Linked DNA regions of Homo sapiens: regions 1, 2 and 4 are each linked to region 3. The links are contacts of gene promoters, found by promoter capture Hi-C in human tissues and cell types (Jung and others, 2019). All regions are on one chromosome and are shown on one strand. Each heading gives the region's core, a stretch centred on a gene start or on the middle of the fragment in contact. The rest is flanking DNA. Distances are from core to core; before and after follow the strand shown. Region 1 overlaps ARHGEF15 (Rho guanine nucleotide exchange factor 15). Region 2 holds the start of ODF4 (outer dense fiber of sperm tails 4). Region 3 holds the start of ALOX12B (arachidonate 12-lipoxygenase, 12R type). Region 4 overlaps CNTROB (centrobin, centriole duplication and spindle assembly protein).

Region 1 (7,147 bases), core at 1-2,500, 230 kb after region 3:
CCCCTACCTTCCGCCTCTCCCTTCTCAGCAACCACCAGGGCCGCCCCACCCACCGACTACTCCAAGCTTCTTCCCTGTGAGTTGTGTTTCCCTCAGAAAACAACCTTGGGACACTTATCTGACCTCTCAGACCTCCCCCACTTCCCCAGTCTCTCTCTTCTGTGGCTCCTGCCTCAGCCCCAGAGGATCTTTTGGGCCAACTGTGACACTTCCCAATATCCCCACCAGATCAGACATGCAGCGCTGGCTGGGAGCCTTCCCAACCCCAGGCCCCCTTCCCTGCTCCCCAGACACCATCTATGAGGACTGTGGTGAGTATCCCCCTAGAGGGGATGAGGGAAGAAAAAGCGAGTCTTAGAGGAATATGGGGGAGAAGCTAAACAGAATCACTTTAATGTCACCCACCCCCAACCAGACTGTTCCCAGGAACTGTGTTCAGAGTCGTCTGCACCTGCCAAGACTGAAGGACGGAGTCTGGAGTCCAGGGCTGCCCCCAAACACCTGCACAAGACCCCTGAAGGTGAGAAAGTCTTTCATTTATTTATTTTGTATTTATTATTATTATTTTTTGAGACAGAGTCTCATTCTGTCAGCCAGGCTAGAGTGCAGTGGTGTGAGCTCGGCTCACTGCAACCTCTGCCTCCTGGGTTCAAGGGATTCTCCTGCCTCAACCTCCCAAGTAGCTGAGATTACAGGTGCCCACCACCACGTCTGGCTAATTTTTGTATTTTTAGTAGAGATGGGGTTTCACCATGTTGGCCAGGCTGGTCTCGAACTAACCTCAGGTGATCCGTCCCCTTTCACCTCCCAAAGTGCTGGGATTACAGGCATGAGCCTCTGGTGCCAGGCCTTATTTCTATTCTTTTTTTTTTTTAATGGAGGTGGGGGGTCTCACTATGTTGCTCAGGCTGGTCTTGAACTCCCGAGCTCAAGTGATCCTCCTGCCTCAGGCTCCCAAAGTGCTGGGATTACAGGCGTGAGCCACTGCGCCTGGCCGTGTTTCATTTATTCATTCAATAAATATTTATTAAGCACCTACAAAGTGCCACTCGCTGTTCTAGGGACTGTGAATCAAATATATCACACTTCCTTCCTTGCTGGAGCTACGTTCTAGCAGAGGAGGCAGACGATAAAGAATGAGCAAAATAGATAAGTAAATTATAAAGTACATGTGAAGGTTATGAGTGTTATGGAAAAAAAAAAAAGTGAGCAGAGCAAAGAAGGTCAGGAGTTCCAGGGTTGGGCAGACTGAAATTTTCAATAGGGAGGCCGAGGTGGACCTCACTGAGAAGGCAACATGAAGCTTGATGGAGCTAATTTAGGCCCATGGTGTCTGGGGGAAGAGTGTCCCAGCTGGAGGCAGCAGGCAGTGCAAAGGCCCTGCGGCTGGTGTGTGACTGAGGAACTGTAAGGAGGCCAGTGTGACTAGCAGGAGAGAGAAAGGGGGAGAAGCAAATGAGGTCATAGAAGTGGCAGGGATGGGATCACGCAGGACCTGACAGGTCTCTGCAAGGACTCCACCTCTTACTCCAAGAGACATGAGCAGCCACTGCAGGGCTTGACGGAAGAGCAGCCCAGACTCTCTCCGAGCTGCTGTCACCTCCACTTCTGATGCCCTTTCTACCGATGCTCCAGGCTTGTCCATGAATTCCCACACCTACAATGACCCTGAAGGCCTGAGACCCCACGAGGCCCCCTTTGCCTCCTCACCTGCTCCCTGCCCCCACCTCATTGGAGCCTCTGTCTCTCTTCCCCCAGGTTGGCTGAAGGGGCTTCCTGGGGCCTTCCCTGCCCAGCTGGTGTGTGAAGTCACAGGGGAACACGAAAGGAGGAGGCACCTTCGCCAGAACCAGAGGCTTCTCGAGGCTGTTGGATCTTCTTCAGGCACCCCCAATGCCCCCCCACCCTAATGCAGGCTGAGGAGGGGGCACATGTTGGGAGACACCTACCAGTGTGGCACGGAGAGAACAAAGCCCATTCATCCATTGGATTCACTGTCAGTGGAGATACTACCTCTCGTGGCAACCATAGAGATCGAGCTTCAGGACAGAGCAGCCAATGAAAACGGCCGCCTGAACCCACAGCAATAAGAATGAATGAGGATGCCTTGAATGTGTGGCCAATGGAGACAGAGGCTTAGTGCAGAGCAGCCAATGGGTACTGAGCTGGCTGAGCCTATGGCCAATGAGTATTCCTGCTATGCTCAGGGCCAAGGAAGACAAATCTAGGTCATGGCAGTTGAAAAAGGGCCTCATTGGAGATAAAGTCGTAGGATAAAATTGGGAACAGGAATGAGCAGGAAGCCAATCAGCCAAAGAAAATGGTGATCTGGACCCAAGAGACCAGTAGTCACCCTGCTTGTTTCTGCAGCAATGACTGGTCCTGTCTTTTGAGTCTGGGAAATACTAGTTTCCATTCCTGGATGCTTCCTGTGCCCTCTCAAGCCAGTTCTTCTCTTCCAGAAGAATTCAGAGTATGTGTCTCAGAAAATCTGTGTGTGTACATGTGCATGTGTAGATATGTGTGTATATGTATCAGGAAAGGCATTCTGCTGACTGTGGTGTGTGTGTGGTGATTGTGCTCCTGACCCACAAATGACTGAGTGCTCCATTTCTTCCTTTACCCCCCATTTTTCCTATTATTCGCTCCAAGAAAGATGCTAAGTCTGAGCTCCAGAAGAGACTGTGCTGGGTGTGGCTTGGCACCCAGGGGATGAGAGCCCTGAGCTTTGGGTCTCTTGGAGGCTAGGGTTCTGTGGCAGTTGCAGGGCAATGTTATGGAGCAGCCAACGGCCTGGCAGAGGAGCCCAAGGGACTGAAGATGGCCAGTAGCTGGGTCCTGAGGCCCCTGAAGTCTGCAGACCCTTCTCCTTGCCCCAAACACTGGCCTCCATAATTCCTGCCTGCAGATCTCCCAACTTGAACTATAATCCACCAGCCAGCCTCAGCCTTGAGCTTTGGAACCACATTAGATCCTGCATCTGGGTGAAGAAACGGGAGCTGTGGACCACAGGCCAGCCAGTGAACCTCCTGGGCTTTCTTGCCTTTGTCCTGATCCTCTCACAGAAACACTGGGCCAAACAGTGGGGAGAGATTGGAGAGCGGGTGTGGCTGCCCAACCCCATCCAGAGCATCTGCTTCCAGATGAGCCAGTGCCTCGCATGATACCAGAGGAGGCGAGGGACAGAGACAGCAAGGCAGACAGTGGCTGGCAGGGGGGCCCAGGCCCGGGACGAGGCCTCCCCTTCAGCTCAGGCACAGCAACTTGCCCAGGACTGACACTGTCACCCTGACTGCAGGAGGCACAGGGACTCCGGGAGACTCAGAGGGCGAAGAGCACTGGCATTTGGCATGTCCATGACATTGGAGACTCCCCTAGCAGGGTGCCTGACGTGTGGGGAACCCTCAGTAAATAGTGGTGCATTTGTATTGAGGCTCTCTGAGGAAGTGTGTGCTTATAGGAGCAGTGGTCTCCAAGCATGGTTTATAAGGGGATGGGGCTGCTTGGAAAGGGGTCCAGAGCAGGGGTCAATTCTGTTGGGAACTGGGGCTTGAAGGTCATGTGCTAGACCTGAGTGTGTTAGCCCACTCACAGTTCCTGAGGGATCTCAGGTGGTGGTGGTTGTGGCGATGGTGGTGGGTTTGCAACAGCTGTGGTTGGGGGCTGCTGCAGGCTGGGCAATGCCTGGGGCTTTGGCAGGGGATGAGAATGCAGCAAGAAGGATAAAAAGGGCAGTCAGGGCCGGGCACGGTGGCTTGCACCTGTAATCCCAGCACTTTGGGAGGCCGAGGTGGGCAGATCACTTGAGCTCAGGAGTTTGAGACCAGCCTGGGCAGCATAATGAAACCCTGTCTCTACAAAAAATACAAAATTACCCAGGTGTAGTGGCATGCGCCTATAGTCCCAGTTCCTCGGGAGGCTGAGGCAAGAGGATAGCTTCACCCTGGGAGGTCGAGGCTGCAACGTGCCATGTTCGCATCACCGCACTCCAGCTTGGGTGACAAAGCAAGACCTTGTCTCAAAAAAAAAAAAAAAAAAAAAAAAGGGCAGCGATAAAGGCCCTTTACTGACCAGCCAATCATCTCTGTGTTTAATTCAATTATACCTATTTATTGAGTGCCTTCTATGTGCCAGGCATTGTTCTAGGATCTGGGGATACAGATATGAAAAAGACAAAGTCCTTGCCCTCAGGAAGCCTTCATCCTGAGGGTGAGAGGTGACAGGGACAATTACCATGTCAACAAATTAATAAGTAAGATAAGATCAGGCCAGGCATGGTGGCTCACCCCTGTAATCCCAGCACTTTGGGAGGCTGAGGTGGGCGGATCTCTTGAGGTCAGGAGTTCAAGACCGGCCTGGCCAACATGGCTAAACCCTGTCTCTACTAAAAATACAAAAATTAGGCCGGGTGCAGTGGCTCATGCCTGTAATCTCAGCACTTTGAGAGGCCGAGGCGGGTGGATCACCTGAGGTCAGGAATTCGAGACCAGCCTGGCCAACATGGTGAAACACTGTCTCTACTAAAAATACAAAAATTAGCTGGGCATGGTGGTACATGCCTGTAAGTCCCAGCTACTCGGGAGGCTGAGGCAGGAAAATCCTTTGAACCTGGGAGGCAGAAGTTGCAGGAGGTTGCAGTGAGCCGAGATAGCGCCATTGCACTCCAGCCTGGGCGACAGGGCGAGATTCCATCTCATAAAAACAAAACAGGGGCCGGGTGCAGTGGCTCATGCCTGTAATCCCAGCGCTTTGGGAGGCCAAGGCGGGTGGATCACCTGAGGTTGGGAGTTTGAGACCAGCCTGACCAATATGGAGAAACCCCGTCTCTACTAAAAATACAAAATTAGCCGGGCATGGTGGCGCATGCCTGTAATCCCAGCTACTCGGGAGGCTGAGGCAGGAGAATCGCTTGAACCCGGGAGGCAGAGGTTGCAGTGAGCCGAGATGGCACCATTGCACTCCAGCCTGGGCAACAAGAGTGAAACTCCATCTCAAAAAACAAAACAAAACAAACCCTCCCCTCCCCAAAAAAAAACAGCACTAAGATAAAATCAGTAAGCAGTAAGCAGAAAATACAGCAAGGGCTGTGGCATAGAATGTTGTGTGTGTATGTTTTGGGGGAGGGTGGTGGCTTTAGGGCAGATCCTGGAAGAGATGACATTTGAACTGAGACCCAGATGACTTCCAGAGGAAGTAGCCCTGGGAAGATCTGGGGAAAGAGCATTCGAATGGAGGCAACAGGGGGCGATAGTCCAGGAACAGAAGGTAGTGGTAGTGGGGATGGGAATTGGTGCACGTGCCCCTTCAAGTGTCCTGGTAGGTGGAGCCCCTCCCCACCAAGGTCTCCCTCCCTCTTTGGCATAAGATGGAGACACACTGGGATACTCAGACAGACAGACATCCGGGGGCAGACGTGCCCCATACACCTTCTCTCCTGGCTCCTCATCCCTTACTGGAGTCCTGCCACTAAGGAAGCCCCCATGCTCCAATTCAGATGTTCTGATGGTGGGATAATGGGGAGATGCCGACCAGGTAAGGGTTATTTTGGGACATAAAGGTGTATAAAATACAACCATATGTTCCAAAAGAGACTGAGAAGACAGGAAGGGAGGGGACTGCCATGTTTCCTGACTTTTGGGGGTTGGATTCTGTTATCTCAGAGCCTGCTTTCCATTTTGGGGTGACCTGAGTGTGTTTGTCCTGGAGGGGTCTGCATTCTGCTGGCCTGTCTAAGGGGGCCGAAGGGCATGAAACACAGCTATATGGGAAAGGAACGGATGTGGGGGAATGAGGACTACAGCAAGGAGAGCGTGGATAGACAGAAGATGGGAATGGGGATGGGGTAAAGAGGACAGAAGAGGGAGGCTGATGGGGGGTGTTGCAGGACAGGTGGCAGGAGGTAACTCAGCTCATTCCAAATTGTCTCCCTCCCTCTCCCTCAGGCATCTCTGCTATGGGTGTCCAGTGTCCCCTCCCTTCTGTGTTCTTCCTGCCCCTCTGGGTTGCCTCCTGCAACTTCCTCATAGGTGGCGTAGGAGGGCCCATGGGAGAAACCTCTCAGCGGTGCCCTGTCTGCGTTCCAGGCATGCTGGTGGGGGTAGTACAGAGAGGTTCACTGAGTCAGCTGGGGAGTCCTAGAGCCACTATCACCTTATTCCCTCACAGTCTATCATGCTGGGGAGGTGGAAGAAACCAACATTTCCACAGGCTCAGGAAAGGTGCAGGCGTCCCCGGGGGGAGATGCCTGAGGCGACAGGGTGGGAAAGCTGGCCCCAGTTGGGGACCTTTCTCTGAGTCAGTGTGGACACTCTTCACCCGTGGCCCTGCTCCTCATAGCTGAAGCCTCCATATTCTGGGAGTCAATTGTCAACCTAAAAGGAAGAGGCTGAGGCACAAAATATGGTTGAAAGAGTTTACTTGAGCCCAAGGGGGCCGGGCATGGTGGCTCACGCCTGTAATCCCAACACTTTGGGAGGTCGAGGCAGGTGGATCACCTGAGGTCATGACTTTGAGACCAGCTTGGCCAACATGGTGAAACCCCGTCTCCACTAAAAATACAAAAAATTAGCCGGGTGTCGTGGTGCCCGCCTGTAATCCCAGCCACTCGGGAGGCTGAGGCAGGAGGATCCTTTGAACCCAGGAGACAGTGGTTGCAGTGAGCCAAGATCGCGTGATTGCACTCCAGCCTGGGTGACAAGAGCGAGACTCTGTCTCAAAAAACAAAAAACAAACGAAAGACAAAGGGAGGACGGCTGCCAGGAAGACTCAGACCCAAGTAACCTTGGATATGAGCTCCATTAGGGCTTTGTTACAAGCAGGTTTTCAAAGGCAAAAAAGGGGGACAGGGAGTGGGCTGTGGGCTGATACAAAGTTGTTAGGAATTCTCATTGGTTTAAAGGAAGCTCTTTGATTAGTGATTGGCTATATACTGTTAAGCTATAGGGGGTGGGTTATAGTGTCCAGTGTGGCATTACCAGGTTAATTCATAGCTACTTATGGCAAGAGCAAGCCAATGCAAGCAGTTAAAGAGGTGAATACCTAGCTCAAAGGGGGTAATGGGATGTCACTGTTGTCTCATTTTAATTCCTCTCTGGCCCTGATTTTTTTTTTTTTTTTTGTCACAAGATTTGGCTTTGTCACCCAGGCG
Region 2 (7,497 bases), core at 789-3,288, 250 kb after region 3:
GGACCCATTCTCATCCTACATCCTCCTCTTTCTGGTGCTGAGAAAAAAAAGAAAGGAAAAAGAAAAGTCAAAAGAAGAGGGAAGGAACTGGTGGTGATTGACTAGCAGTGAGTAGAGCTGGGAGGGAGGTGAAGGGTTGGGGAAAGCAATGGGAAGCTCGATGACATCTTTGCAAGACATGTCCAAAGAACAATGGAGGGAGGATCTTTTCCTGGGGATAAGCTCCTGCTCCCTCCCCCTGCTCCATCAGTGAGCATTTGGGGTTGGGGTTAGGGCAGAGGAACTAGGAAGAGAAAAGGGGACTGTCCTAGTCCATTTTGTGTTGCTATAACAGAATACCTGAGGGTGAATAATTTATAAAGAAAAAAGGGCTATTTGGCTCACAATTCTGATGGCCAGAAAGCTCAAGATTGGGCATCTGTTGAGGACGTCAGGCTGCTTTCACTTATGGTGGAGGCAAGGGGGAGCTGGCTTGTGCAGAGATCACAAGGTAAGGGAGGAGCTGAAACTGTGCCCCAAACAGTTAAATAAACCAGTGATTAACAGACATTTTCGAGTTTACAGGATGGCAGCTAAGAAACAGCTTGCTGAAATGCTGAAAAATCCCTTTGCTTATAACAGGACTGGCTGAAATCAGTGGGAACCCGTATGGCTGACAGCAATCCGCACAGAACGAGCTTGCTGATGTCACAGCCTGAATTTCCACCTGCTGTTTCATACTAACGCCACCAAATTTGCACATGCAACCCACGAAGAACCTTGGAGATAACCAGACATGATTAAGGACTTTCTAGACTTCTCCTTTCTTTCCACCAATCACCCGCTAATCCCAGAATCCTCCCCCTAAACCTTTTCTAATAAAAGTACTGCCTTAAGACCAGCAAAGAGAGACAGATTTGAGCTGGATTCCCGTATCCTCGTGGGTCAGCTCACAATAAAGCTTTCCTTTTCTCAAAACCTAGTGCCCTAGTATTGGAGTATTGGCTTCTATGCACATCTGGCAGCGAGCACTTTTGCTTGGTAACAGCGCCAGGTTCTTTTTAACAACCAGCTATTGCGGGGAGCTAATGGAGTGAGGTCTCAGGGAAGGCGTTAATCCAATCACAAGGCATCTGCCCCCATGACCCAAACACCACCCACTAGGCCCTCTCACCTCCCATCACCACCACACTGGGGAGCAAATTTCAGCATGAGGTTTGGTGAAGACAAATTAACCATATGCAGACCACAGGAGGGCCTCTCACATACCATTGCTCATATGTAAAGGGAGGCAGAAGCTGGAGGGAGGTGTCAGATCCACAGTTCTGAGCTGTGGCCTGAGAAACAGGATTTCCGGAAAGAGTTAGAGCTGGAGCCACAGGCCAGGCAAGGTGGCTCACACCTGTAATCCCAGTGCTTTGGGAGGCCAAGTGGGGAGGATCTCATGAGGCCAGGAGTTTTTTTTTTTTTTTTTTGAGGCTGAGTTTCACTCTTGTTGCCCAGGCTGGAGTGCAATGGTGCGATCTCGGCTCACCGCAACCTCCGCCTCCCAGGTTCAAGCAATTCTCCTGCCTCAGCCTCCTGAGTAGCTGGGACTACAGGCATGTGCTACCACGCCCAGCTAATTTTGTATTTTTAGTAGAGATGGGGTTTCTCCATGTTGGTCAAGATGGTCTCGAACTCCCGACCTCAGGTGATCCACCCACCTCGGCCTCCCAAAGTGCAGTGATTACAGGCGTGAGCCACCGTGCCTGGCAGAGGCCAGGAGTTTGAGACCAGGCTGGGTAACATATCAAGACCCCATCTCTACAAACAATTGAAAAATTAGCCAGGCATGCTGGCACAATCCTGTAATCCCAGCTACTCAGGAGGCTGAGGTGGGAGGATCACTTGAACCCAGGAGTTCAAGGTTGCAGTGAGCCAAGGTTGTGCCACTGCATCCCAGCCTGGGCAATAGAGGGAGACCCTGTCTCTCTCTCTAAAAAAAAAAAAAAAAAAAAAAAAAATTGCTGAAGACTTGGCTTCCCTCCCCCATCTCACTGTGCCCCAGGAAAATTCCGTGGCAGTTAGGGGACCTGGCCTGCTGAATGGGTTGGGGCCTTCTCTTGGATCAAGAGTCTCTTATTTGATCGAGGTCTGTTATTAGACTTCCTCATTCTTTCTCAGACCTCAGGCTGCATGGTGGCAGCTGATGAAAATATCCAAAAGATGAGAAGAGACAATTGAGTCTGGTGAGGGAAAGGGGAGACAGAGGGTGAAGTGGTGCTCAAGATGGATGCAGAGTACTCTGGGAATGAGTTCCCCAGGTCAGAAGGAGAAAGAGACCAACATCAGAGACCTGGAAAGGAAAGGAAGAGTGGGGAGGCAGGATGGGGCACAGGTGAGCTGGGACAAGATGGGAGACTGCTGTCCTCCACCCTCTCCCTCAGTAGTAACAGGTCCTTGGGCCAGCGCCAGAACTCTCCGCTGCCCTTTCAATGGAGAATCACACACAGCTTCCGCTGGATGGCCCAGGTGTTGGCCTCTGAGCTCAGCCTGGTTGCCTTTATCCTACTATTGGTCGTGGCCTTCTCCAAGAAATGGCTGGACCTCTCTAGGAGCCTCTTCTACCAGCGCTGGCCCGTGGATGTCAGCAACAGAATCCACACATCAGCCCACGTTATGTCCATGGGGCTCCTGCACTTTTACAAATCCAGGAGCTGTTCTGACTTAGAGAATGGGAAAGGTGAGCCCCTCCACCCCCCATCCCAGCCCAGGCCGCCAGCCTGTCTTGGCCTCTGTATCTGCACCCTGGATGTATTCTTGTTCCCTCTTTCTGGTCATCTTTACTTTTTGGCCTGCAAGATGGTTCCACTGGCACTGAGACCTCCGATGATCGTTTCTCATCCTGTAGCCTGGCTAAATAGATTTGATTGGTGCAATGGAAAATGTCACTGCTTTTGATAAAACCCAGAGCCAAATCTGTGCTTCTAAGAATGCTGTGAGAGAGTTGGGCATGGTGCTGCACACCTGTAGTCTCAGCTATCCAGGAGGCTGAGGTGGGAGGATTGCTTGGGCCCAAGAATTTGAGTCCAGCCTGGGCAATTTAGTGAGACTCCTGTCTCAAAAAAAAAAAAAAAAAAATCAGGCTGGGCACTGCGTCTCACACCTGTAATCCCAGCACTTTGGGAGGCCAAAGCAGGCAGATCACCTAAGGTTGGGAGATCGAGACCATCCTGGCTAACATAGTGAAACCCCGTCTCTACTAAAAATACAAAAAATTAGCCAGGCGTGGTGGCACATGCCCGTAATCCCAGCTACTCTGGAGACTGAGGCAGGAGAATTGCTTGAACCCGGGAGGTGGAGGTTGCGGTGAGCCGAGACCGCACCATTGCACTCCAGCCTGGGCAACAAGAGTAAAACTCTGTCTCAAAAAAAAAAAAAAGTTACGAGGGGCATGGACTCAGCACAAGAGAATCATTCATTAATCGCCTAATTTACCAGGGACAAGAGCCCCAGTGAGATGGGGGTTTCCTTAGTCTTGTGTACCCAGAGCTTTGAGAGGACTCCTTGCAATGTCCCCTCTCAGGCCCTGATCCCACACATTCTCCTTTCCTTCTGCCTCAGGCCTTGCTTTTCTGGATCATTTTCCTTTTTCCACATCTGGCTTCTGTGTTCCTTCTTTCCCTGAATTCTTGCAGCTGCTTCATTCCTCATCCTTGTTTTTTTCTGTTTGTTTCGCTGATTTTTTTAGAGACAAGGTCTCACTCTGTCACCCAGGCTGGAGTACAGTGGTGCAATCATAGCTCACTGCAGCCTCGAACTTCCAGGCTCAAGGGATCCTCCTGCTTTAACTTCCGGAGAAGCTCAGACTACAGGCCGTGGCCACCACACCTGGTTCTTATTGTTGTTAGTCTCTGGTTATGCTGTTCCCTCACCCCTCAGGAATTTGGAGTTCTTTCCCTGCTCCTGGGGAAAACCAGAGCTTTTGACCCTTATTTCCATTTTTTCACTCTCCTTAGCATGAAAAAAATCACACAGCTATTATTTTCTGAAAGTATTATGTCCTTATCATATGAATATGAAAATATTCATATAATGAATTATGAAAGCATTATGAAAATATTATGTCCTTATTATAATAAATTTGGGGAAACAAAAGCTATCCTTTATTGTACACTTACTCCATTTGTTCAATTTAGTCCTTAGTCAATCCTAAGGGATAGGGATAATTATCCCTATTTTAGAGATGAGAAAATTGGGACTCAGAGAGATTAAGTACCTTGCTCAGGGTCATAAAGCTATTTAGATTGAACCAAATGACATGCTAATATTTGACTGCTTTTCACCTACAAAAGGAGAATTTCACATGGATCAACCTAATAATGGCAGGGTTGGAATTGCAACTCAGGTGTGCCTGGCTCTAAAACTCACATAGGCGCCTTGCTCTACGGAGTTACTCAAAGACAGCCAGGCTTTTTATTTTTATTTATTTATTTATTTGAGACAGAGTCTTGCTTTGTTGCCCAGGCTGGAATGCAGTTGCGGTCTCAGGTCACTGCAACCTCTGCCTCCCGGTTTCAAGCGATTATCCTGCCTCAGCCTCCCAAGTAGATGGGATTACAGGCGCCCACCACCATGCCCAGCTAATTTTTGTATTTTTAGTAGAGACGGAGTTTCACCATGTTGGCCAGGCTGGTTTTGAACTCCTGACCTCAGATGATCCGCCTGCCTCGGCCTCCCAAAGTGCCTCGGCTCACGGATTACAGGCGTGAGCCACCGCATCCGGCCAAACATCACTGATTTTTAAAATTTATTTAATTAGGATTAGGTGTGTATAAACAGTGAAAATTCAAAGAATACAAAAGATTGTATACTGAAGTGAGTCTGTTATCTCTTAGTATCCAGTCTCCCTCCCTAGTTTCTCCTGTTTCTTTCCAGAGACACTCTATTCAGAGACAAGCATCTATTTTTATTTTTATTTTGAGACAGTGTCTCACTCCGTCACCCAGGATGGACTGCAGTGGTGTGATTGTAGTTTATTGCACTGCAGCCTCAAACTGCTGGGCCCAAGTGATCCTCCCACCTTGAAGCTCCCAAGTAGCTGGCACCACAGATGCCACCATGCCTGGCTACTTTTTTTTTTTTAATTTGTAGAGACCAGGGTCTCCCTCTGTTGCCCAGGCTGGTCTCCAACTCCTGGGCTCAAGTGATTCTCCTGCCTCCACCTCCCAAAGTGTTGGGATTACCGGTGTGAGCCATTGTGCCCAGTCTATCACCTATCACCATTTTAAATGAACACACAATAACACAATGTATGGGGATAGTATAATTTATTTTACAAATCTCTTCTAAATCAAGGAGCTTATTGGACATTTTTTTTTTTTTTTGAGATGGAGTCTTGCTCTGTTGCCCAGGTTGGTGTGCAGTGGCATGATCTCGGCTCAGTGCAACCCCTGCTTCCTGGGCTCAAGTGATCCTTCCACCTCAGTTTCCCCAGTAGCTGAGACTACAGACAGGTGCCACTACACCTGGCTAATTTTTGTATTTTTAGTAGAGACGGGGTTTTTACCATGTTGGCCAGGCTGGTTTCAAACTCCTGACCTCAAGTGATCCGCCCACCTCAGCCTCTCAAAGTACTGGGATTATAGGCGTGAGCCAGCACACCCAGCCGACATATTAATATCTCTGCAAAGAAGATTCCTGTACTGAGATTTTGCTGCAGATCTCTGATTATTCCTTAACATAAATTCCAAGAAGAAGCATTGTAGGGTCAAAGAATGTAGATTTTCTGGATCTTTTGTACCAGATCATTCACCACAAATGCTGCCCACCAGGAGCGTATGAGAGGACCTCTTTTCTCTACATACTCTCCTATACTAGGTGTTATCAATCTTATTTTGATCTTTGCTAATTTGACAGTTTATATATATGTATGTAGAGATGGGGTTTCACCATGTTGGTCAGGATGGTCTCGATCTCCTGACCTCGTGATCTGCCCACCTCGGCCTCCCAAAGTGCTGGGATTACAGGTGTGAGCCACCGCACCCAGCCAAGTGTGTGTGTGTGTGTGTGTGTGTGTGTGTGTGTCTATATATATATAGACTGCAACCTCAGCTTCCTGGGATCAAGCGATTCTCTTGTCTCAGCTTCCCAGCAGCTGGGATTACAGGCGCATGCCACCATGCCCAGCTAATTTTTATATTTTTAGTAGCGATGGGGTTTCACCATGTTGCCCAGGCTGGTCTCGAACTCCTGATCTCAAGTGACCTGCCCACCTCGGCCTCCCAAAGTGCTAGGATTACAGGGGTGAGCCACTGCACCCGACACCAATTGTATATTTTTAAAGAGACAGGGCCTCCCTATGTTGTCCAGGCTGCTCTCAAACCCTCAGGCTCAAGAGATCCTCCCACCTCAGCTTCCCAAAGTGGTGGGATTACAGGTGCGAGCCACCATGCTCAGCCTCGATGGTTTTTCACAAATCACATTTAATTAGCAATTCTTTGTGTTGAGCTTTATATGTTTATCAGACATTTGTACTCCTTCTTTGGAGAATTGCAGTTTAAGTCCTCTGTACATTTTTTCTGTTGAGGTATTCATTTGCATGTGGTTGAGGTTATCAAACAATATCCATATCAAGGATCTCGGATTGTTTAAGAAGTGAAAGCAATATTTCATTTTTATTTCAAATGTGCATTTCTCTGATTATTAATGGGTCTGTACATTTTCTTTCTGTCTTTTTTGTTTTTTGTTTTTTGCAGGCGGCGTCTCGCTCTGTTGCCCAGGCTGGAGTGCAGTGGCTCACCACAACCTCCGCTTCCCAGGTTCAAGCGATTCTCCTGCCTCAGCCTCCGGAGTAGCTGAGACTACAGGCATGCACCACCATGCCCAGCTAATTTTTGTATTTTTAGTAGAGACGGGGTTTCGCTATGTTGGCCAGGCTGGTCTTGAACTCCTGACCTTGTGATCCACCTGCCTCGGCCTCCCAACGTGCTAGGATTACAGGCGTGAGTCACCGCGCCTGGCGGTACATTTTCTTGTATTTGCTCATTTGATTATGTTTCATCTTTTGTAAATCCTTAGTTGATCTTGTTTGTTTGTCATTTTCCCCAGGCAGTTTTAAGCTGTGGACAATCAGCCCATGTTTAAGGTGGCTAAGTTAAGCTTCAACCTGACCCTGGGGCTGGGCCTCGTCCTCACCATCTGGTTGCACCTGCCCTACCTGCCCGCTGTTCAAAAATTGCCCTTTGTGGGCTTCGGGACCATCTTGAGCTTCTGTGAAGGTGCCTCCTAGCTCTGGAAAGGTCCTTTGTTTTCCTAACCCCCATCTTCCTGGGCACTTCTCCCTCTTCTTTGGGGGTGGTATGAGGGTTTTGTGGGTGGTGGGAGAACAGAACCGAGAATCGAGTTACATCATTTCTTGGTCACAGGAGAGGTAGAAATGCAGGGGTTGACTCCTGGAACCTCAGGGCCAGTCACTCTGTGTGTGGTGATGTGGTTTGTGGCTGTAGCCTAGCAGATGAGGAAGAACCTCCTGTG
Region 3 (6,953 bases), core at 54-2,553:
GATTCCTCTACCCAGGGCTATGTAGGACTCCAGCCCCTCCTTCTCTCCATCCCCAGCTCCTGTCTTCTCCCACTCCCCTCTCCAGGCACCTGAGGTTGCAGGAACCCTTCAGACCCCTGGGGACTTGGGTACCACTCTACAGTTTTCGAGTGGGGAGAGGCCCAGCCAGCCCCTTCTCCCATTCATCAATGAAGATGCAGATATTCAGAATGGCCACATAGATAGAGTGACCTATTAAGGTCGCCTAGCAGCAGGTGGCTGGGTCTGACTGAAAATCAGGTCTGAGGACCCGCAAAGCGTGCCTTCCACTGGACAGGCTGGTCTGATGCCATTTTAAGTCACAGAGAATCCAGTGCAAATGTGAGACAGTTAGGAGGCAGCTGAATTAGGAAGAGTGACTGAGAATGGAAGAGAGAGGGATGCGGGAGAGGGGGTAAGACAGAAAGGGGAGGAGAGCAAAGGGGAAGGAAAGCAGGTGGAAAGGATTGAGAAAAGAGAGATGCAGGATAGGCAGAGACAGGGAGAGAGGGCTGAGGAAGAGGGAGAGAGAAGAAAAGGATGGGGAGGGAGATGAGGAATGCCTGAAAGGGTTAGAGATGAAGGAGCAGGATGGAGAAGGATGGCCCAGAGATCTGGGACATGGGCGAGGGGCTGGAAGCCAGCTCTGGACAAGGCGTGTAGAGCCACTGGGGAGCCCACTGCCTTCGGAGCTGTGCCTCAGCTCTCCAGCCTCTCCTCGCCAAGCTCAGCTCACCTGGCTCCCCCTGCGCACCTTCACCCCTCCCGGGGCCACAAAGACACACAGACACACACAGACACACACAGACACACACACACACACACACAGACACACACACACACACACACACACACACACTCTTACCGCCCCAGTTGCAAAGTCTCTCCCAAAGTGGTTCAGCAGCTGCTTATGGCTCTCTCCTTGTGTCCCCACAATGGTCAGTGAGATGGAGTCCCGTGTTCCCGACAAGAGGTCGGTGCCTGTGGCCACCCTGACTTTGTAGGTGGCCATGGCTGCTCTTCAGGAGGCAAGAGGGGCACTCAGTCCCAGACACCGTGGAGGGGCCACACGAAGGCCCAAGGCAGGCAAGAGAAGCCAGGCACAGAGTGGAGTGGACAGGGCTGGCCTCCGAGGTGCAGTGGTGAGGTGGCGAGGTGGGGTGACTAGGCCTGCCAGCCAAATTCTGGAAAAGCTGCTGCCCTTGGTGGCCGGGGTGGGTGCCGGGCAGGCCCAGGCGGAGCCCAGCTGGTGGTGAGTGAGCAGGTGTCTGGGCTCCAAGCCTTCTGGGAGCTGGTGGGGAGGAAGAGCAGGCAGGGCACTGGGCCTGCCTCTGAAAGGGCGGATAGAAGATGCCGTGGATGAAGGCGCCTTCAGGGTGGGGGAGCCAGTCCAGCCTGAGCCAGGGCCCTAGGGAAGTTGCGGGAGGGGGCAGGGTGTGGTCCCCAGATCTTTATCAGACTAATAAGCTCCTTCCTCCTGCCAGTCCCCATTGGCTACAGTGCCAGGCACCCCTACTAAGCAGGGCCATGGGCAGTGAGTGACTTGCATTGGTTCTGAGGCCACTGGTGGGCGGGGGAGGGGAGGGGGAGGGGCACTAAGTGGCAGCGCAGCTGGCCAGCCTCCAGGCCATTCCTCTCTGGGAAATGGGACAGGTAGTGGCCACAGTGAGAAAGCTGGCCTGTCCTTCTGCCCCAGGGCCCAGAGTCTGTGACTGGAAGGGTGGGAGGTGTTGAAGCTAGGGCTCGGGGACCACATGGGTGCCCAAAGGCCTGAAGATGCTGCGGGGAGGAACGATCAGGGTAGGAGAAGGGGATCTGTTGCTTCCTGTGGGGCCAGGATCCACTGGTGAGGGATTGGAGTTGGATATAAAATCAGAAGCCCAAAAAAAAAAAAAAAAAAACTAAATTAGAAGACAGAGTGAAATCTGGGGCATAAGAATTAAGTTAAATAGCTGGGCGTGGTGGCTCACGCCTGTAATCCCAGCACTTTAGAAAGCCAAGGCAGGTGGGTCACCTGAGCTCAAGAGTTCGAGACCAGCCTGGCCAACATGGTGAAACCTTGTCTCTACTAAAAATACAAAAATTAGCCAGGCGTGGTGGCATGCGCCTGTAGTCCCAGCTACTTGGGAGGCTGAGGCAGGAGAATCGCTTGAACTCAGGAGGCGGAAGTTGCAGTGAGTTGAGATCGTGCCACCGCACTCCAGCCTGGGCAACAGAGCAAGACTCCGTCTCCAAAAAAAAAAGACAAAAGAATTAAGTTAAATAATGGATTAATATGATCAATATTTTGTGGTATAATCATAAAATAGAATTCTACCCAGGAATAAAAAGAATGAACTGCAATGCGGATGAGTCTCACAAAGATGATACTGAGCAAAAAGAGCCAGACATTAAAGGGGATACGTTCTGTTATCCATTGATAGGAACTTCCAGAACCAGCAAAACTGAGCAATTCTCAGACAACCTCTACTGGTGAGTATCCCTGGCAGAGGGAGGCCATATAGGCTGCTGGAGGTGTTCTTATCTTGATCTGAGGGGCGTCTAGGGTACTTCATTCATTTCATTATGTGTTATCCTTTAATTTCATAAAGTACATACCCTCACTTCCCTCCCAAAAAAGAATGAAGCTAGGAAGAGGGCTGGAGGCAGGGCTGAGCTCCAGTGGAACTGTGTTTGTTGGGAACCAGGTCGTTCCTCCCTCAGATATGTAGTGAGCACGGTGCACGGCGTTCTAGGCACTGCAGAGGCAGAGAAGAAATGAAACATACATGGAGCTTACGGAATAGCTGGGAAAGAAGTGAAAGAAACAGTAAACAAGAATTTGTTCACTATAATTTTGGATACTAAGTGCTCTGAAGAAAATAAGCGTGGGAGGTTGGGATTGGGAACTAGTTGCTGATAGAATCACAGAAGTCAGAGCCGCAGGATAGGGAGAAGGTGTTAGGAGTAAGGTGAAGAGCATTATGAGAGAGTCAGAGATAGACTCTCCAAAGATAGGATTTGGGACCCAGGGAGAGTGAGGAGGCAGGCACGTTCCTATTCCCTTTTTCTGGACCTGTCCTCTTTCCTTTCACCTCCGAGGAGCAGCTTCTGTCAACCAGGAAGCATAGCCCTGCTTTCCTCCCTGATGGCACGCTTCCATCACCATCGAAGGAAGGTCATTCAATGCCCAGGCCAAGTTAGGGTCAGAGGGGGCTGGGATTGTGAGATGAAGAGAAGGTTCCAGTAGGTTCCAGACTGGATGTGGAATGGGGTCGAAACTGCAATTCAGGTTTAGGTTAGAGACACAGATGTGGCTGGAGTTGGGGATTGAAATGATCTTTTCCAGACCCAAATCTGTTCACATCACTCTCTATGTTCCCTCCTCCCAACCCTGATCAAGCCTGGCAGTGGCTCCTCTTTACCTTTGGGACAGTGACACCATCCCCTCCCGTGGCCCCCACGGCCTGCCTGATTGGCTTCACCCCTCACATTCCCCTTTGCTCTCTTCTGTCTGGGACCACGTGCCTTTCATTCATTCATCAACAGACACTGGCCGAACCCCTACTGTGTGTTCAGCGCTGTGTCAGGTCCTGAAAATACAATGCGATCAAAGCAAACCCCTGCACCCATGGAGCTTGCCTTCAAGTGAGGGAAGCAGACAATATTACCTAGTAACCAAATACATTAAATAGTATGTTAAATAGTGATAAGTGCTGAAGAGAAAAGAGAGAACAGGGAAGGATAATATAAAAAATAGAGGAGTGCCGGGCATGGTGGCTCATGCCTGTAATCCCAGCACTTTGGGAGGCTGAGGTGGGCGGATCACCTGAGGTCAGGAGTTCGGGACCAGCCTGACCAACATGGAGTAACCCCGTCTCTACTAAAAATAAAAATTAGCCGGGCATGGTGGCGCATGCCTGTAATCCCAGCTACTCGGGGGCTGAGGCAGGAGAATAGCTTGAACCCAGGAAGCAGAGGTTGCAGTGAGCCAAGGTCATGCCATTGCTATCAAGCCTGGGCAACAAAAGCGAAAATCCATCTCAGAAAAAAGAAAAGGAGGATATTTTAGATACAGAGTGGCCAAGGAGGGCTCCTTGGGAAGAAGACTTTTGAGTAAAGACCTGAAGGAAGTGAAGTCAGCTCGTCACCATCCCAGGGCCTTGGCACATGCTGTTCCCTCTCTACCTCTCAAACTGAGGTCACGTTTCCTCTTCCTCCTGATCTTAGCTCAATAATTGCTTTTTCCAGGAAAGCCAAATTTCACTATACATGGCTCTCACAGCACTATAGCTAACATCTTTGATTGATGTCTGTTTTCTCTAATAAATTAGTCCATACTTTTTTTTGGTTTTGTCCCCATCTCCTGGTGTCATACTTGGTACCTGGGAGACACCGAAAACATAGTTGAATGGGTTAATGACAAGGACAAGGTCAGGGCTGGGGATTGAATCGATGATGGCTTTGGAGTTATGGTGAAGATCCGAAGAGAGCTGACTTGGGCTCAGGGTGAGAGAAGGGGCAAGGCGTGGTGTAGGGGAGGGAAAGGGGTTGGGTGGGGAGGGAGGGAGGAGAGGGGAGAAGGCTGAGGATGAGGGTTGTGCCCAGCTCTGGGTGGCAGGGCTGGCTGTCCTGGGCTGCAGACAGAAGCCGTCCAGCTGGATCTCCCCCCTGGGATCTCCCTCCTCAACCACCTCGATGACTCTTGGAGGATGCTGGGAGCCTGAAGATGCAAATCTTAAGATGCAAATTCCATGCAAATTCTCCCAGCTTCCTCTTTCTAATCTCTCCCCTTTGCCCTGTGTCCCCAGGGGGCTGCTGAGGCTTGGTGAGAAGCAGGGCAGTGGACTGGGCAAACTGAGTCATATCCTGCTACCAATAGGTCTCCTCCAACCCAAATCCCAGGGTGGCCCTGGGTTTGCTCAGGGCTCCAGTGTGGAGTGGGAATTAGGTTCCTGAGGGAGACGGAGATGGAGGCAGGGATGCTGAGGATGTCAATGTGGCTGGGGCAGGGACAGGGACGGGATCAGGCATGAGGATGTAGATGGGGCACTCCCCAGCTATGACCAAAACGTAGACGCGTGACTCTTGATAGGTGCTCATTGGGCTGAAGAACTGGTTCTCCTGGACCAGGGGCGGGAGCCAGTGAGGAGGAGAGGTTTCTGGGAAGGATTCACACTCACTGGGGTTGCTAACTAGGGGCCATCCACACAGGAAGCTGAGTTCTCACTGCTGGGGTATCCCCCGTGCCTGACCCCACCCCAAGCCCTGCAAGGCAAGGAGCAACTAACTCCTGGGGACCCACTCTCCTAAGACACAGAGAAAGAAAAATCAAATCACGCCACTCCCCTGCTTAAAGTTCACCAGAGCTTAAAATGGGGTTGTCCGTAGAAATGAATCCAAGGGCCAGGCGCGGTGGCTCATGCCCATAATCCCAGCACTTTGGGAGGCCAACACAGGCGGATCATGAGGTCGGGAGTTCAAGACCAGCCTGACCAACATGGTAAAACCCCGTCTCTACTAAAAATACAAAAATTAGCCGGGCGTTGTGGCACGCGCCTGTAATCCCAGCTATTCAGGAGGCTGAGACGGGAGAATCGCTTGAACAGGGGAGGTGGAGATTGCAGTAAGCCAAGATAGCGCCACTGCACTCCAGCCTGGGCAATAGAGAGAGACTCCGTCTCAAAAAAAAAAAAAAAGAAAGAAAGAAAGAAAGAAAAGAGACGAATCCAAGGACTTATCATGTCTACAAGACCATGCCTTCCCGACACCTTTTTCCAGCCACTCTGGCCTTCTTGCTGTACCCAGAACATGTGTCCTTCAGGACCCTTGCATTTGCCATTCCTGGGTTTGTAATACCCTTCCCCCAAGCTGTTCAAGCTGTTTCAACCAAGCTGTTCAAGCTGTTTCAAGAGTGGTTTTGTTTGTTTGTTTGTTTGTTTGTTTGTTTTGAGACGGTGTCTCACTCTGTCACCTAGGCTGGAGTGCAGTGGTGCAATCTCAGCTCACTGCAACCTCCACCTCTCAGGCTCAAGCGATCCTCCCACCTTGGTCTCCCGAGTAGCTGGGACCACAGGCGTAGTCCACCTGGCTAATTTTTTGTATCTTTTGGTAGAGATGGGATTTTGCCACGTGGCCGGGACTGGTCTCAAACTCCTGAGCTCAAGCGATTTGCCTGTCTCAGCCTCCCAAAGTGCTGGGATTACAGGAGTGAGCCACCGCACCCGACCCTAAGCGTGTGTTGTTCATGTCATCCAGGTCTCAACTCTAGTGTCACCTCCTCAGAGTCCCTCCCTGACCACCGTCCCTCATGTTTCCCCGCCCTCCGCCCTCCATCATGCTACCCTGCCACCTGGTTGTATCTCCAACTGCACTTGCCACCGCCCAAAAGGATCTTTATCTGTTTATTGATGCGTTTATTGTCTGTCTCTCCAGCACCCATAAGAAGGGTGAAAGAAGGGGTTGTGCCTGGGGAGCTCACAGCTGCTCTCCCAAAATCTAGAACAGCATCTAGGCAGACAAGAGCCACGAAGCAAAGCGATGCTAGGATGTCAACGCTGGAAAGGGCTTTTCAGGTCTTCTCGTCCCACTCATGTATCTGACAGGTTGGGACCACTGAGGCCGAGGGACTTGCTCAAGATCAGCTGGGGAAGGAGGCTGGTGTGCTTCCCATTATACCAGTTGACCTTTTAGACTGACCAAAAAACAGTGGAGGGCAGAGTGTAAGCTGAGGGGAGCTCCTGACCTCACAGGGCTCCAGAAACTTGATGTGAGCCTCCTCCCCATGTCCTGTCCCCAGAGTCAGGGCAGGACATCCTAAGTGTACCAGGTGTGTCTGCCCAATAAATCTCTTTCCAAGCTGCCTTTCTGGAAAACCAGATTCCAATGACCCGCCCTGGTCCCTCCCTCTCCGGCTCAGGGGCATTTTTCAGGATAGGCATGCCTACTAATGCTGC
Region 4 (6,903 bases), core at 2,156-4,655, 150 kb before region 3:
CTTCTCCTTTAACCGTTTCTGCTGTCCAACTTGAATCATCAATGTCTTAATTTTTCCCACACCATGTAGTCTTCTATCTGGCCCCTTAGTCATTTAGTTAACTGTGAAGTTTCAAGTTTACATTGTCAATGCTTTATAAAATATAGCACACACAGATTTCCCACAGTTCCTCTGCCCTGTATTCCTCTCTTCCTGAAAGACAGTAACCCGCCTGGAACAAAGCCTTTCTGAGGCCATGGAGGCCCTGAATCGTGAGCAGGAAAGTGCCAGACTGCAGCAACGGGAAAGAGAGACACTGGTGAGAAGATTGGACTGGGTTAATTCCACTGGAAGCTGTTAATTACTTCTAGAGAGCTGTGGGCTATTGGTGGATTGTGGGAGATTATAATTTGAGTTGCACCAGAGCACTGTTTCCCAAAGTGTGTTCCTTAGAACACTAATTCAGCTAGATATTCTATTAAAAAAAAAGGCTCTGCTACCAAGTCGGTTTGAGAAACTCTGCAAATTGTATCATCATTAGAATATTAGTGTCATCTGAAGAATTATTTTAAAATATAGGCTAGGCACGGTGGCTCACCCCTGTAATCCCAGCACTTTGGGAGGCCAAGGCAGGCAGATCATGAGGTCAGGAGTTTGAGACCAGCCTGGCCAGCATGGTGAAACCCCGTCTCTACTAAAAATACAAAAAACTAGCTGGACATGGTGGTGCATGCCTGTAGTCCCAGCGACTTGGGAGGCTGAGGCAGGAGAATTGCTTGAACCCAGCAGGCAGAGGTTGCAGTGAGCTGAGATCAAGCCACTGCACTCCAGCCTGGGTGACAGAGTGAGACTCCATCTCAAAAAATAAAAATAAAAAATAAAATAAAATAAAGATTTCTGGGACTCACCTGCAGAGGTTTTGATTCAGTAGATATATGGTGGAACTCAAATCTTTTCAGAAATTTCCTGGGTGATTTTTTTCAATCTGGTTTGGGACCTCTGGTGTAGGGCATGGCCAAAAAAGGTATGAAATTGACTAACTCAAGTTTCTTTTCGTGTTTTTTTTTTTTTTTTTTTGAGACAGGGTCGCGCTCTGTTGTCCAGGCTGGAGTGCAGTGGCACAATCTCAGCTCACTGCAGCCTCTGCCCCCTGGATTCTAGCGATTCTCCCACCTTAGCCTCCCAAGTAGCTGGGACTACAGGCGTATACCACCACGCCTAGCTAATTTTTGTATTTTTTTGGTAGAGACGGGGTTTCGCCATGTTGGCCAGGCTGGTCTCAAACTCCTGACCTCAAGTGATCTGCCCGCCTTGGCCTCCCAAAGTGCTGGGATTACAGGCATAAGCCACCATACCCAGCCACTTCACTCAAGTCTCTTAGAGCTGAAATGATAAGGTGATTAGCCATATGAATTAGTAGCTGGGATTGGAACTTGTTGCATGCATAATGCATGCTTGCTACATGCATGCTGGTACTTGTAGTCTTAACAGGCTATATCTGACAGTCCTGATGATGATGGGTGATGGTTCACGATTATAGGCTGGATATTCTAGTCTTAGTGGAATTTCTTTTGACGATGATGGTGGTAACTATTGTGTATTGAGTACTTACTATGTGCCTGATGCCGTGCTAAATGCCTTACATATGCTTTTTACTTTAATGCTCAGAAGGCAGACCCTGTTATGATCTCCAGTTTACAGATAAGAATGTATGCCTAAGAACACATAGTAAATTCCAGAACCAGGATTCGAACCTGAGATTTGAACCCAGGTCTACCTGGCTCTGGAACAGGAACTCTTATCTACTATATTATAATCCTATGAGCTTGTCAACTATTGTGTTTGTTTGTTTTGAGATGGAGTCTCGCTCTGTTGCCCAGGCTAGGGTTCAGTGGCACAATCTTGGCTCACTGCAACCTCCGCCTCCCAGGTTCAAGCAATTCTCCTGCCTCAGCCTCCTGAGTAGCTGGGAATACAGGTGTGCACCACCATGCCCAGCTAATTTTTATATTTTTAGTAGAGACATGGTTTCACCATGTTGGCCAGGCTGGTCCCAAACTCCTGACCTCAGATGATCTGCCTGCCTCAGCCTCCCAAAGTGCTGGGATTACAGGCATGAGCCACTGCGCCTGTCAACTATTGTGGGGTTTCTTTTGGTTTTATTTGAGATGGAGTCTTGCTCGATGTCGCCTAGGCTGGAGTGCAGTTGTGTGATCCCAGCTCACTGCAACCTCCACCTCCCAGGTTAGAGCGATTCTCCTGCCTTTGCCTCCCAAGTAGCTGGAATTACAGGCACCCACCACCACGCCTGGCTAATTTTTGTATTTTTAGTAGAGATGGGGTTTCACCATGTTGGACCAGGCTGGTCTCAAACTCCTGACCTCAGGTAATCTGCCTGCCTTGGCCTCCCAAAATGCTGGGATTACAGGTGTGAGCCACCGCACCCGGCCTAATTATTGTGTTTTTAATGAGCATAATTCTCAGCAGGCACCTTGTATGAGGGTCAGAGGGCAGATCGCTGGTCTCTGAAGAGCCTACTAAGGAGCTTGGTTTTCTTCTGCGGCTGTAGGAGGAGGAAAGGCAAGCTCTGACTCTGAGGTTGGAGGCAGAACAGCAGCGGTGCTGTGTCCTGCAGGAAGAGCGGGATGCAGCTCGGGCTGGGCAACTGAGTGAGCATCGAGAGTTGGAGACTCTTCGGGCTGCCCTAGAAGAAGAACGGCAGACCTGGGCCCAGCAAGAGCACCAGCTTAAGGAACACTACCAGGCGCTGCAGGAGGAGAGCCAGGCTCAGCTGGAAAGGGAGAAGGTAAAAGTGGCAGTTGGAAGAGCTGAGGAACTAGGGAGTAGATGAAGGGCAAAATAATTGAATGGGATGGAATGTTAGAATATGGGGGATACATATAGGCAGGAATGGAGAGTAGAGAGCCATGTGTGGGAGACAAGGTTGAGAGTATAGGGCCAGCAGGAAGGGCTGGGGGTAATGAATACGTGAAAGGCCAAAGACTGAAATTCAACAGGGATGGGGAAATAAAACAAATGGGAGGAGCTGGGGGAAGCTTGGATTTTAGGGTTTGGGAGGATGAACTGGGGAGTGTAGGTAACCAGGAGATAAGAAATGAGGTATGTATATACATTTGATTTGTCTTTCATAGGAGAAGAGCCAGAGGGAAGCCCAGGCCGCCTGGGAGACCCAGCACCAGTTGGCATTGGTGCAGTCTGAGGTGCGGCGGCTGGAAGGAGAGCTGGATACAGCTCGGAGAGAGAGAGATGCCCTGCAGCTGGAAATGAGCTTGGTGCAGGTCAGAAGGCAGAGGTTTCTTGAGGTTTTGTTCTGACAGAAGTAGATCTGAGGCAGAGGGACCTCTCAGGAGTTGTGGCAGACACTCCCAGTTCAGGTGTTTGGGGTTTAATTCCATTAACAGTTTCTATGTAGTATGGGTAGTTTTCTGTCCTAAACTCAGAGCTATTTCTTACTGAGTGACCATTTCCCACAATATGTCAGACTGACCTAGTGTTACTTTTAGGATTAAATAGATTTAAATCTATTAAAGATACCTTATGTTATTTTAAGAGATGACACCACACTTAGTGGGTTGACAGAGCAGGTGAAAGCTTTTGTCAGAGACTTGATTCCAATTGTAACAGTGTGCTTTGTAATTCTCATTACTTGAATAACTTGTATTAATTTCTCTGAGTAGGTCAGGGACCCAGGAGGGCAATGATTTTTTAATTTACTTATGAAACTTCCATAACAGCACATGGCCTGGCACAGAATTGTACTCAAAAATTGTTTGTCAGATATAATTACACTTTGAAAAACTCTTTCCATCTAGCTAACACACTGAATTTTAAATTCAAACTAGTCGGACTCTTGCCATGGAATAGAGCAGGAGTTGGCGAACTTTTTCTGTAAAGGGCCAGACAGTAAATATTTTTAGCTTTGTGGGTTGTATGGTCTCAGTTGCAACTACCCAACTCTGCTGTTATACCACAGAAGTAGCTATAAACTGTACGTAAACAAATGGGCACAGCTGTGTTCTAGTACAACTTATCTAAACAGGCAATGGAGGGCTGAATTGGGCTGTAGTTCGCCGATCTCCAGAATAGAGGAAAGGATTGGAGAGAGCTGTGTTCCAGCCCATGGGGGAGACACAGCGTTGAAGAGGAAAGAGTATTGCATTAGGACTTAGGGCACTTACGTCTACTTCTAGCTAGAATTTTGACCTTTATGGGCCTCTGTTTTTATGTATAAAATGTGTAAGGACAAATTGATGAATTTTCCAGGTGCAAGCCAGTCTGAGAGGCTATGTTCCTTATAAATGGTTAACTTAAGGAGGTACCAGTGAGGCCAGCATTTGAGAACCACAATCCTTTGGCCCGGTATGGTGGCTCATGCCTGTAATCCCAGCACTGTGGGAGGCCAAGGCGGGTGGATCACTTGAGCCCAGGAGTTTGAGACCAGCCCGGCCAACATGGTGAAACCCTGTCTCTACTAAAAATACAAAAATTATCCAGGTGTATGGTGCACACCTGTAGTCCCGGCTACTAAGAAGGCCGAGGCAGGAGAATCGCTTGAACCCGGGAGGTGGAGGTTGCAGTGAGCCCAGATTGAACCAGTGTACTCCAGCCTGGGCAACAGAGTGAGACTCCATCTCAAAAAAAAAAAAAAAAAAAGAATTGACCTAGGGCTTCAGGTGTTACAATGAGATCACATGCGATAAAGACTAAGAAAGCATCCGGGTGTGGTGGCTCGCACCTGGAATCCCAGCACTTTGGGAGGCCGAAACGGGCAGATTGCTTGAGCCCAGGAGTTCAAGACCAACCTGGGCGCAATATGGCAGTACCTAAACTCTGCTAAAAATACAAAAACTTAGCCGGGTATAGTGGCATGCACCTGTAGTCCCAGCTACTCGGGAGGCTGAGGTGGGAGGATCAACTGAACCCTGGAAGTAGAGGCTGCAGTGACCCGTGATCACACCACTGCACTCCAGCCTGGGTGACAGGAGCGAGACCGAGTCTCAAAAAAAAAAAAGACAGAAAGGGCCAGGTGTGGTGGCTCACGCCTGTAATCCCAGCACTTTGGGAGGCTGAAGTGGGAGGATTGCTTGAGTCCAAGAGTTTGAGACCAGTCTGGGCAACATAATGAGACCCCATCTCTACAAAAAATAAAAATATTAGCTGGGTGTTGTGGCACCAGCTTGTAGTCCCAGCTACTCTGGAGGCTGAGGTGGGAGGATCTCTTGAGTCTGGGAGGTCAAGACTGCAGTGAGCCATGATCACACCACTGCACTTTAGGCTAAGCAACAGAACAAGACTCTGTCTCAGAAGTAGGGGCTGAGAAATAACCACTATTTGGATTTAGAAATTGAGTTCTTTGGGCCATGCGCGGTGGCTCACACCTGTAATCTCTTTGGGAGACTGAGGCGGGTGGATCACGAGGTCAGGAGATTGAGACCATCCTGGCTAACACGGTGAAACCCCGTCTCTACTAAAAATACAAAAAATTAGCTGGGCGTGGTGGCACGCACCTGTAGTTGCAGCTACTTGGGAGGCTGATGCAGGAGAATTGCTTGAACCCGGGAGGCAGAGGTTGCAGTGAGCCGAGATCGCGCCACTGCACTCCAGCCTGGGTGACAGAGAGGGACTCCATCTCAAAAAAAAAAAAAAAAAAAAAAAAGAGGTTGAGTTCTTTATAGTAAAATACTATACGTGGAAATCAGATTTTAGTGAGTTGAAGGACTGTGGCTGAGAAAATGGAGACACTTATAGGTTGACTGCTTAAGGAGGAAGAGGCACTGCCATTTATTGAATGTCTACTGGCTTTCAGGTACTCTACTCAGGGTATTTTTTTTTTTTTTTTTTTTTTTTTTTTTTTTGAGACGGAGTCTCGCTGTGTCTCCCAGGTTGGAGTGCAGTGGCGCGATCTCGGCTCACTGCAAGCTCCGCCTCCCAGGTTCATGCCATTCTCCTGCCTCAGCCTCCCAAGTAGCTGGGACTACAGGCGCCCGCCAACACGCCCGGCTAATTTTTTGTATTTTTAGTAGAAACGGGGTTTCACCGTGTTAGCCAAGATGGTCTCGATCTCCTGACCTCGTGATCCGCCCGTCTCGGCCTCCCAAAGTGCTAGGATTACAGGCGTGAGCCACCGCGCCCAGCCTCAGGGTATGTTATATCAGACACGTAGAATGGATTTGATTGCTCTGTCGAACATTTATTTTAGCTAAGAAATTTATGTCTTTCACCCATAGTCATTTTCACTTTGATGTATGTTTAAAGTGCGAATATCTTAATAAGGAAAGGGAACCTCTTTCACTCCTTGAGGCAAAATTCTTGTTCTTCATCTCATATGAGGGGAAAGTTGGTACTGGATTTTGTCTACATTATATCCTCCATCCTCTTCTAAGCCCAAACAGATTTGGGCCGTTATCCCACCTTCCTTCACTCCAGGCCCGGTATGAAAGCCAGCGGATCCAGCTGGAGTCGGAGCTGGCTGTGCAGCTGGAGCAGCGGGTGACAGAGCGGCTGGCGCAGGCTCAGGAGAGCAGCCTACGGCAAGCAGCCTCCCTCAGGGAACATCACAGGTACGTGGGACTCACTGGGTGTCACTTCTCTCAGCCACAGCACGTATCGTTAGTGCCAGGCCTGTGTTCCCTTCAATCCCTTTGCCATGGTCCAGCACTGTGACTCCCAGGGTGCGCTAACTCCCATCAGCTGGGACCTGAGTCTCTCTCGGGAGGGCTGCCTTCACGCGTTCATGGAGAGCCAGAAGTGCCTGGGAATTTTCATCCCATAGGGAGTAGCCCTTAACCAAGAACTGATGGGTGCAGAATGATAGATGGTCCAGCTCCCTCACTGGGACAGTGCTGAGGTATGACCTGTGCTGTCTCCAGAGCTGCTCTGTCGGACTGAGCCTCCTCGCAGCCT

Evidence for each region. Contacts are between HindIII fragments. The study calls those that stand out against the background at their distance.
Region 1: a fragment that was not itself captured here is called in contact with the fragment with the promoter of ALOX12B in region 3 in 2 of the 25 tissues and cell types used here (lymphoblastoid cells and spleen).
Region 2: a contact is called between the fragment with the promoter of ODF4 here and the fragment with the promoter of ALOX12B in region 3, in 2 of the 25 tissues and cell types used here (lymphoblastoid cells and small bowel).
Region 4: a contact is called between a fragment that was not itself captured here and the fragment with the promoter of ALOX12B in region 3, in 1 of the 25 tissues and cell types used here (lymphoblastoid cells).

What each region holds. Positions count from the first base shown.
Region 1 is chr17:8,319,084-8,326,230 of GRCh38, forward strand. It overlaps ARHGEF15 (Rho guanine nucleotide exchange factor 15), which reads left to right. Exons shown (of 16, transcript NM_173728.4): 13 at 1-76; 14 at 229-311; 15 at 416-520; 16 at 1,759-3,428. The coding sequence ends at 1,910. Among named protein-coding and RNA genes, the nearest start is that of ARHGEF15, 12 kb to the left of the region's middle. The HindIII fragment of the contact is 6,503 bases long and covers 1-4,502 here.
Region 2 is chr17:8,337,802-8,345,298 of GRCh38, forward strand. ODF4 (outer dense fiber of sperm tails 4) reads left to right here and starts at 2,039. Exons shown (of 3, transcript NM_153007.5): 1 at 2,039-2,704. The coding sequence starts at 2,251. LOC124903916 (a long non-coding RNA gene) reads left to right here and starts at 256. Exons shown (of 2, transcript XR_007065607.1): 1 at 256-490; 2 at 622-957. The HindIII fragment of the contact is 12,554 bases long and covers 1-7,497 here.
Region 3 is chr17:8,086,413-8,093,365 of GRCh38, forward strand. It overlaps ALOX12B (arachidonate 12-lipoxygenase, 12R type), which reads right to left and starts at 1,304. Exons shown (of 15, transcript NM_001139.3): 1 at 884-1,304. The coding sequence starts at 1,030. It overlaps MIR4314 (microRNA 4314), which reads left to right and starts at 1,644; the gene lies at 1,644-1,735. RefSeq lists an enhancer at 332-1,080. The HindIII fragment of the contact is 32,393 bases long and covers 1-6,953 here.
Region 4 is chr17:7,936,965-7,943,867 of GRCh38, forward strand. CNTROB (centrobin, centriole duplication and spindle assembly protein) reads left to right here. Exons shown (of 19, transcript NM_053051.5): 7 at 200-298; 8 at 2,549-2,785; 9 at 3,132-3,278; 10 at 6,427-6,560. Among named protein-coding and RNA genes, the nearest start is that of CNTROB, 8.2 kb to the left of the region's middle. The HindIII fragment of the contact is 4,478 bases long and covers 1,167-5,644 here.